Linked DNA regions of Homo sapiens: region 2 is linked to region 1. The links are contacts of gene promoters, found by promoter capture Hi-C in human tissues and cell types (Jung and others, 2019). All regions are on one chromosome and are shown on one strand. Each heading gives the region's core, a stretch centred on a gene start or on the middle of the fragment in contact. The rest is flanking DNA. Distances are from core to core; before and after follow the strand shown.

Evidence for each region. Contacts are between HindIII fragments. The study calls those that stand out against the background at their distance.
Region 2: a contact is called between a fragment that was not itself captured here and the fragment with the promoter of KIF23 in region 1, in 2 of the 25 tissues and cell types used here (mesendoderm cells and pancreas).

Annotation. Positions count from the first base shown.
Region 1 is chr15:69,412,242-69,416,329 of GRCh38, forward strand. It overlaps KIF23 (kinesin family member 23), which reads left to right and starts at 2,108. Exons shown (of 24, transcript NM_001367805.3): 1 at 2,108-2,235; 2 at 3,753-3,822. The coding sequence starts at 2,225. It overlaps KIF23-AS1 (KIF23 and PAQR5 antisense RNA 1), which reads right to left and starts at 2,788. Exons shown (of 2, transcript NR_132971.1): 1 at 1,911-2,788. RefSeq lists silencers at 2,278-2,397, 2,428-2,507. The HindIII fragment of the contact is 14,046 bases long and covers 1-4,088 here.
Region 2 is chr15:69,358,561-69,362,648 of GRCh38, forward strand. It overlaps PAQR5 (progestin and adipoQ receptor family member 5), which reads left to right. Exons shown (of 9, transcript NM_017705.4): 3 at 1,406-1,571. The coding sequence starts at 1,521. Among named protein-coding and RNA genes, the nearest start is that of KIF23, 54 kb to the right of the region's middle. The HindIII fragment of the contact is 4,443 bases long and covers 1-4,088 here.

The sequences.
Region 1 (4,088 bases), core at 858-3,357:
TCTAAAATATATGAATAGACAACATTTATCTGAAAATAAATGAAAAATTTAACTACATGTTTTTTCTCACCAATTGATATGAGATATCAATAGATTGGTAGCTACTGAAAAGTTTGATAACACTTTGAGAATTGTGGAGAAATAGGCACTCTCATACAGGCTGGTGGGAGTGTACATTTGGACAGCTTTTATGGAGAATGATTTGCAATATCTGTGAAATGTTACACATATGTATACTCTTTGACTCAGCAATTCTGTTTCTAGAAATGTTTCCTACATATTTACCTGCATTGTATAAATTTCCACATTCATTCACTATAGCTGTATCTGTAATAGGAAAAGTTGGAACCATCCTAATGTGCAATGTAGGGGTGGAAAAGGTGTGATACTTTTCTTTACCCATCTTAAGGGTCACAGCTGACACTACCATAACAAAAAACAGGTTAGCAAGATAAATGGATAACTTATTGAATCACAGTTTTATGGGATGTAAGTGCCTTCAGAAATGAAGACCCAAAGACCCAGGGAAAGCTGTCCATTTTTATGCTTAGATGAGATGAAGAATGGACAGCTGTGTAGAAATGTGATTGTACAAAAGGAGTATGATCTAATAGTAACAGACTGAAGGAGGAATCCAGCAAGTCCTGTCTGTTCAGATTCTTCTTGGCCTCTCTGTGCAGCTTTCCTTCTTCCTGAGTGTAGGGCAAGACCCTTTTGGAACGAGGGTCTTATGACAAGGTACATCAAAGAATGTCTTTATGGCCAGCTCTTACACAAAAAGGTGGGGGAAGGCTAGATTAATATTTCTAGGTTTTTCTAGAATAATGTTTCTGGCTTGCTTGGGAGAAAAGGGGTTCTAGTTTCCATGACCCGCCTTGGGGAACAGAAATTCTGGTTTCTATTATTTGCTTTAGGAGACACAGAGGGGTGGGAGACAAGAGGGCAGGAGAAAGTCAGAGACAGACTTTGCTTTTAAGGCTTCTCTGAGGCACTTTCAGTCTTCTTTAGTTCAAAGCACTCAGTGTGCCAAAGAGCCATACTCTGGGGTGTCGTTTCCTGAGCACCAACAATATTGGCCAAGGACATTGTGACTATCCTTACCAGTGCTGTGGTCCTTTAGGAAGTTGAGAAGGGGCTAGAGTTCCATGAGAGCCCAGGTGTAGATGTGTATTTGGTAGTCATCGGCTTAGGGTCAAAGACAGAAGTGATATAGAATCAGTTCATCTAAGGCAAGAGTAGGTTCAAAAGGTTGCCCCTTAAGGGTAAGGACCAAATTTTATTCATCTCCGTAAGGCCAGGATCAAACACAATCAAGATTTGATAAAACAGGCCGGGCGCAGTGGCTCACGCCTGTAATCCCAGCACTTTGGGAGGCCAAGGTAGGCAGATCACCTTAAGTCAGGAGTTCTAGACCACCCTGGCCAATATGGTGAAACCTCATCTCTACTAAAAATACAAAAATTAGCTGGGCGTGGTGGTGCGCGCCTGTAATCCCAGCTACTCGGGAGGCTGAGGCAAGAGAATTGCTTGAACCTAGGAGGTGGAGGTTGCAGTGAGCTGAAGACTGCAGTCCAGGCTGGGCGACAGAGCAACTCCACCTCAAAAAATAAAAAAGGAAAAAAAAAAGATTTGATAAAATAATGTACATATAGGACAGAGCTGGAGGGAAACCCAGGAAAGGTGAATCAGAGAGAGAAAAGACGCCAAGATAATGTGGTGACTTGGGAGCCAGAGAGACGGAGCCTGAGACTTGGAGCAGGGCACAGCACAGGAATACAACACTTTTCACCAGAACGACATTCCGACCTCTGAATCAACCCTGGAAAGGCCCTTCCATTGAACTTCTTGTGATGGAGGAAAAGAAACCCTCAGTTTCGTCATCGCAAGGCGGAAGAGTTTAAATACCATACCTCAAGATCTCCCTCCAGCCCTGACACGCGACTCCGCGGCCCTTTCAGCGTCGGTCGCCTAGGAGACAAGCGCCACTTCCGGCAGCGAAGTCACTTCCGCGGAGGTCCTGCCTCTCCCTGCGGACGGGCGCTGATTGGCCCGTTTGAAATGCGCCAGGCGGGAGCTCACCTGGGCTCTTAGCGTCGCCGCCGGCTTCGCAGAGCACCGCGCCTTAGCCGCGAAGTTCTAGTTCTTGCTGCCGGTCCTAACGTCCCGCAGTCTTCGCCAGCCAGCCGTCCCGCATGCGCGTTTGGGCGGCGTGGAGCCTGCTGCCATGAAGTCAGCGTGAGTACGAGGCCGCCGAGCAGGGAGAGAGGGCGGACGGGGGCCGAGGCCTCGGGGCTGGGGGCAGGCGTCTCCACTCAGGCCGCGGCCGTACGCGGGCAGCGCGGACAGCATCCCGCCCGGTGCTGCTGCGGCCGCGACCCCAAAGTGGGAACCTCCACGTGTGGCCGCTCCGCGGGAGCCTGGGCGCGGAGACCCCTGCCGCGTCGCCCCCCGCCGCCCCGCCTGGGCCTCCAAGGGGCCAGGAAGGGTCGGCCCGGAGCCGGGGTTGTTTTACGCCGCACCCGGTTCCCGGGGGCGGGGCAGTCCTCCTCGGGGTCCCGGGACAGCCTTTCCCTTCTCCCTCGCTGGCTGCCGCCGCCTCCAGAGTGCAGTTGGCCAACTTAGTGCGGGTCGGAGGTGGTCTCGTGTGTGGAGCAGAGCGAGTGTGCTGGGCATTGGTTAGATGGGCTCCGTTTCTGGAGAGCCCTGGCACCGGTGATCGCCGCTAGCTTTTTTTTCAGCCGAGCACCCTGTCCTTGAGGCCGAGCCCATCCGCTTACACAGGCCAGTTACTTCTGCTGTATTTTGTGGCCGCAGAGAACCTCCGCCCACATTCCTAAGCTAATATTTTCGGCGCAGCATCATTCCTGGGTAAAGAAATATTTGTCGTGCAAAGGAGAGGATTGGCTTTATTACCATTTAGGGAGTCGTTTGCAAAAGACAACTTGTTTATTAAGAGGCCGAAGTCAAAATCTTTAGATGAAAAAAATTATATATAAGAAATATACGTTGAGTTTAACTTAAGCCCACCACAAAGTATTTTGCACTGAATAACACGAATTTGCTTGTGTTTCATCTGAGAATATGTTTGGAAAAATATTTTTAAACTACAGTCGAAGCCAATAATCTTACTTAATTTTAATGTGTTAAATGTATATCTAGCCTATAGATAAATGTGAAGGGAAAAAGATGAGATGCTAGAGAAATGGTGAAATCAATCAAAATAACTTTTTGATTGCCCCTACTTAAGAAACCAAGAAATTGGCAGTTTGGGACCAGATTTTGTTTGGAGACAAAGAGTAATGTTTTGAGCATTCAATGACTGGTTGTTCCTTGAAAGTACAGGCGTAACCCTTGACGAAAGAATGGTTTCCTCCATGTGCATTTTTATAGTGTATTGAAGTTAATCGCTTGTCAGTCTGTAAAGTGTGGGCAGTTATAATTTGTAGTGCCTCTGTTAAATTGTTGCTCAAGAAAATATGCAAGCCATTTTAAGTATAGAACTAATCAGAGAATAAGTAGGTAGCTTTGGTACCAAAAATGTATTCTAAAGCAAATTTTAATTACTTTTGGATTACGCATGCCACAAACACTCTGCTACTATGATTATTAATGTTATTTGGGATGCAGTGTTTTGCAACTGCTAAGGGATAATTTACAGATAACCTAGAAAGATTGTATAAGTTTTAGGTGAGGCTTTTGTATTCGTGTTGAACTGAAAAAAAAGTTATTATTATTTTTTAATCTATGACCAGGAGAGCTAAGACACCCCGGAAACCTACCGTGAAAAAAGGGTCCCAAACGAACCTTAAAGACCCAGTTGGGGTAAGGTATCCCTGTAAATTTATGTGTGGTGTTTAAGAAACTTATCTCTTCAGTCCTTTCTGTCTTATGTGTATGCTTGGAAGGGAAAGAAGAAGACATGTGGAAGTATAATCAAAGAACATTTAGTTAAATGGATGTACTACATTGTGTAAAACTAGTGCTAGCTGTGAAATTTTCTCTATAAGATTAATTAAATTAGTCCAGTAAAATGAAGTCTTTGGTTGTCAACTGCATACCTTCTGTAATTATAATTTGGAGAGTTAGAT
Region 2 (4,088 bases), core at 904-3,403, 54 kb before region 1:
CCCTCCCACCTTCATGTGTAACATGAGAAGACTGGGTGACCTCTAAGGCCCTTTTCTTTTCAGCTCTGTGGCATTTTTTTTTTTTTTTTGAGACAGATTCTTGCTGTGTTGCTCTGGCTGGAGTGCAGTGGCATGATCATGGCTCACAGCAGCCTTGACCTCCTGGGCTGAAGTGATCTCACTTTAGCCCGCCCTTGAGTATAACACCATACCCAGCTAATTTTAATTTCTTCTTTGTAGAAACAAGGTCTCACTATATCACCCAGGCTGGTCTTGAACTCTGGGGCTCAACTGATCGTCCCATCTCAGTCTCCCAAATTTCTGGGATTATAGGCATGAGCCACCACACCTGGCCTTAGCTCTGCAATTTTATGATCACTGTCTTAGTCCATTTGGCATGCTATCACAAAATATCTAAGACTGGGTAATTTATAAACAACAGAAATTTATTGCTAATGGTTCTGGAGGCTGGGAAGTCCAAGGTCACAGTGCCAGCAGATTCCCCGTCTGGTGAGGGCCCATTCCTCATAGATGTCTCCTTCTATGTGTCTTCACATGGTGGAAGGGGCGAACAAGCTCCCTCACACCTCTTTTCTATGAGCACTAATCCCACTCGTAAGGGCAGAGCCTTCATGACCTAGTCACCTCCCAAAAGCCCTGCTCCTTGTCACCACATTGGAGATTAGGTTTTGACACATGAATTTTGGGGAGACACAAACATTCAGACCATAGTAATTGCCCATATTATTGTCACAGGATGAGCCGCAGACAAAACTCCTCAGACACCGAGTTAAAGACGGAAGCGGTTTATTTGGCCGGGGGGCATCAGCAAGACTCCTGTCTCAAGGGCCGAGCTCCCCAAGTGAGCAATTCCTGTCCCTTTTAAGGGCTCACAACTCTAAGGGGGTGCGTGTGAGAGGGTCGTGATTGATTGATCGAGCAGGGGGTATGTAACTGGGGGTTGCATGCACTGGTAATTAGATGGGAACAAAACAGGATATGGATTTTCGCAGTGCTTTTCTATACAATGTCTGTAATCTATAGATAACATAACTGATTAGATCAGGGGTCAATCTTTAACTACCAGGCCCAGGGTGTGGTGCCGGCTGTCTGCTTGTGGATTTCATTTCTGCCTTTTAGATTTTACTTTTTCTTTCTTTGGAGGCAGAAATTGGGCATAAGACAATATGAGGGGTGGTCTCCTCCCTTATTATTAATTACCTCCCTCCAGCACTCTTGGAGTGGATGACTCAGCAGTCTGATCATTTTGCTGTTTTTAAGGAAGCTTGATCTTGTGCCATCATGTGTAGCAAGTATATGTTCAATAGTTGAACAAGCTGACTGTCCTGACCCAGCTGGAGTTAGGCTGAAACTGACTGGATTTCTTCATGCTGTCCTCTTTCAGGGAAGCGGCACAGCACCAGCTAGGCAGAGACGCCCCAGGCCATGTTAGAGCTTTGAGTGAGGCCTGGTAACAGGGAGGCGCTGTCACCTACTGGCCTTGCCAATCCAGCTCCAAGATGCTGAGCCTGAAGCTCCCCAGGCTGTTTAGCATAGACCAGATACCCCAGGTATGTGCTCTATTGATTATGATGGTTCATTTCCAGAGTGTGACCAGGGCTTGGCCTCCGCAATGGGGGGCTGTTGTCTTCACCTAGTCTGTTCTGTACAGGCCCATTCCCTTCAAGGACCCCTTCCCACACTTCCTTGGGGGATATTACAGCCTCCTACTTCCCCCACCTACCTTGAAATGGAAGTATTCCCAAAGTTGTTTAAGTTGTAACCCTTCCTTGCAACATCTGTGTGTTATCCAGAAGCAAAGTCATTACTGAGATTCAACCTGAAGAGATAAAGCCAGCAGCAGCTGGCTGGGTAGGAAGTTTATTTTTTCAGGCCCCTCCTATGGGTGCTTGAAAGCAGGCTATGGGCAAAGGCACACCAGGTCATGGCTTTGCTCATCCCCATTACTTGCAGGATGCCCAGGCCAGGCCTTCACTGGGGCGATGGGGAGGGTTGTTGAATGAGCCTTAGCATTGCCCTTTAGTGGACCCATGGGCCTGGGAGCTCACAGGCAGGTACCCTGAAATATGTGAGACTCACTGATGATCTGCTTTACTAAGCCATAGGTGAGCCTGGTTGTGTGCTACAGAGAACTGGTGCACTTCCTCCTTCTCTTGCAAAGGAAACATCATTGTGTTGCACCCCTTTGTTGATGTCAAATTTCCTTCCTTTTTGACTAAGAAAAGTGGGTGTCATTTCATGGTGGGAAGTTTCTTTGGGAAGATGTGACAGAGTGGAGGAGAGTTCTACTTGGCTTGGCTGATTACCAAGCACTTATGACTTGCCCCAGAAAAATAAGTTTGAAATAAACTCAACATCACCAATGGAAGGTTGAGGGGGAAATTGCCAAACCCTAACCCTAAAAGCCTGTGAAGCCAGGTGATTCCAGGAAGATGGCATGGGGGAAAACCGTAAGTGGTGCAGAGCTGTTTGGTGGGGTGAGCTGAGGAATGTGGCAAGTAATAGGCAAGCTACACGTGTGGCTGTCTCCCATGACACTGGGCAGAGCACCTGCCTCTGTTCTCACAGGGCAATCACCTTCTCCTTTTGGTGCACTTTGCTGGTTGGTTCTACCCATAGAGCATTAGCAGCTGTGATTAGTGGGAACACAGTGTGATTCTTGAATTTATTTACTCATGAAATTTGTATTGACTGCCTACTATGTGCAAGGGATTCAGAGAATAATTACATACAAATCCTGTCCTTGCGTGACTCATATGTTGGTCAGGAAGATTTTTAAATGTGCATGAGAAATTCTTTTCTAAAGTGGGTTAGGGTCTATCTTAAGACAGGGTGATTGTTTCAGAGAAGGGATTGGTCACTTCCATCACGAGGGAGTGTATTAGTCCATTCTCACACTGCTATAAAGAACTGCCTGAAACCTGGTAATTTATAAAGAAAAGAGGTCTAATTGACTCACAGTTCCTCATGGCTGTGGAGGCCTCAGGTAACTTACAATCATGAGGGAAGAGGCACGTCTTACATGACAGTAGGCAAGAGAGAGCATGATGTGAAGGAGGAACTGTCAGACACTTATGAAACCATCAGGTCTCAAGAGAACTCACTCACAGTTTGGGGGACAACACCCCCATGATCCAATCACCTCCCACCAGGTTCCTCCCTTGACATGTGGGAATTATAGGGATTACAATTTCAGATGAGATTTGAATGGGGACACAGAGCCAAATTATATCAGGGAGGAAGTGATCAGGGAAGGCTTCATGAAGGGGGTGATCTGAGGGGTGGACAGGATTGTGGAAGTGGGGAGAGCATTCCAGGTGGAAGGAGCAGTGTGAGCAAAGGCCTAGAGATGGGAGATCATGGGGCAGGTGGTGATGGTGGGGGGACTGGGGAGCGTCTTGGGGGTAGAGGTTATGGGAGTCTGCTTAGATATCTTTCTGGACATTTTGGTCAGGGTTGGATTCAGAGTATGTCCGCAGGAAAGAAGTGAAGGGGGCAGAGTGGTATCAATAGGTCCTTTGGGTAACCTGCTGGGAATCTGAATGTATGGAGATTCTGAATGTCAGGGCTGGACAACCCTGGCAGAGGCTAAGGGAGAAAGATGAACATGTCCTCTCTGTCCAGTTTTTCGTAAGTTAGAGGATGATGATATCTTTAGTGAAATGGCACTAGCTAGAGGCAGAAGACCAACATCACACTTTGCAGCCACCGTTTGCTTCAAAATCTGCCTTGGGCTCCAGCATCCACTATTGGGTTTTTGGGCATCATGCCCAGGGTTCATGAAGCCATAGAGAAAATATAGTGGCTCTGCCTGCCTGGAGGGTAGTTTTACCTGAGGATTTGGGGGCAAAGACATTTATTAGTATTAAAACAGATGCACAGGTATTAAAAATGGAATGCACAATTTACATGAATATTTAAAATAGGATACTTCATACAATTGTTAAAGCTTACCTTTGGTGGGATCTGTGGGTTCCAATACTTGGTTTTTAGAGTGGCCTCAAGCAAGATAATCTCTCTACCTCAGCTTTGGCTTCTGTAAAATGGGAATGACAACAGTATCTGCC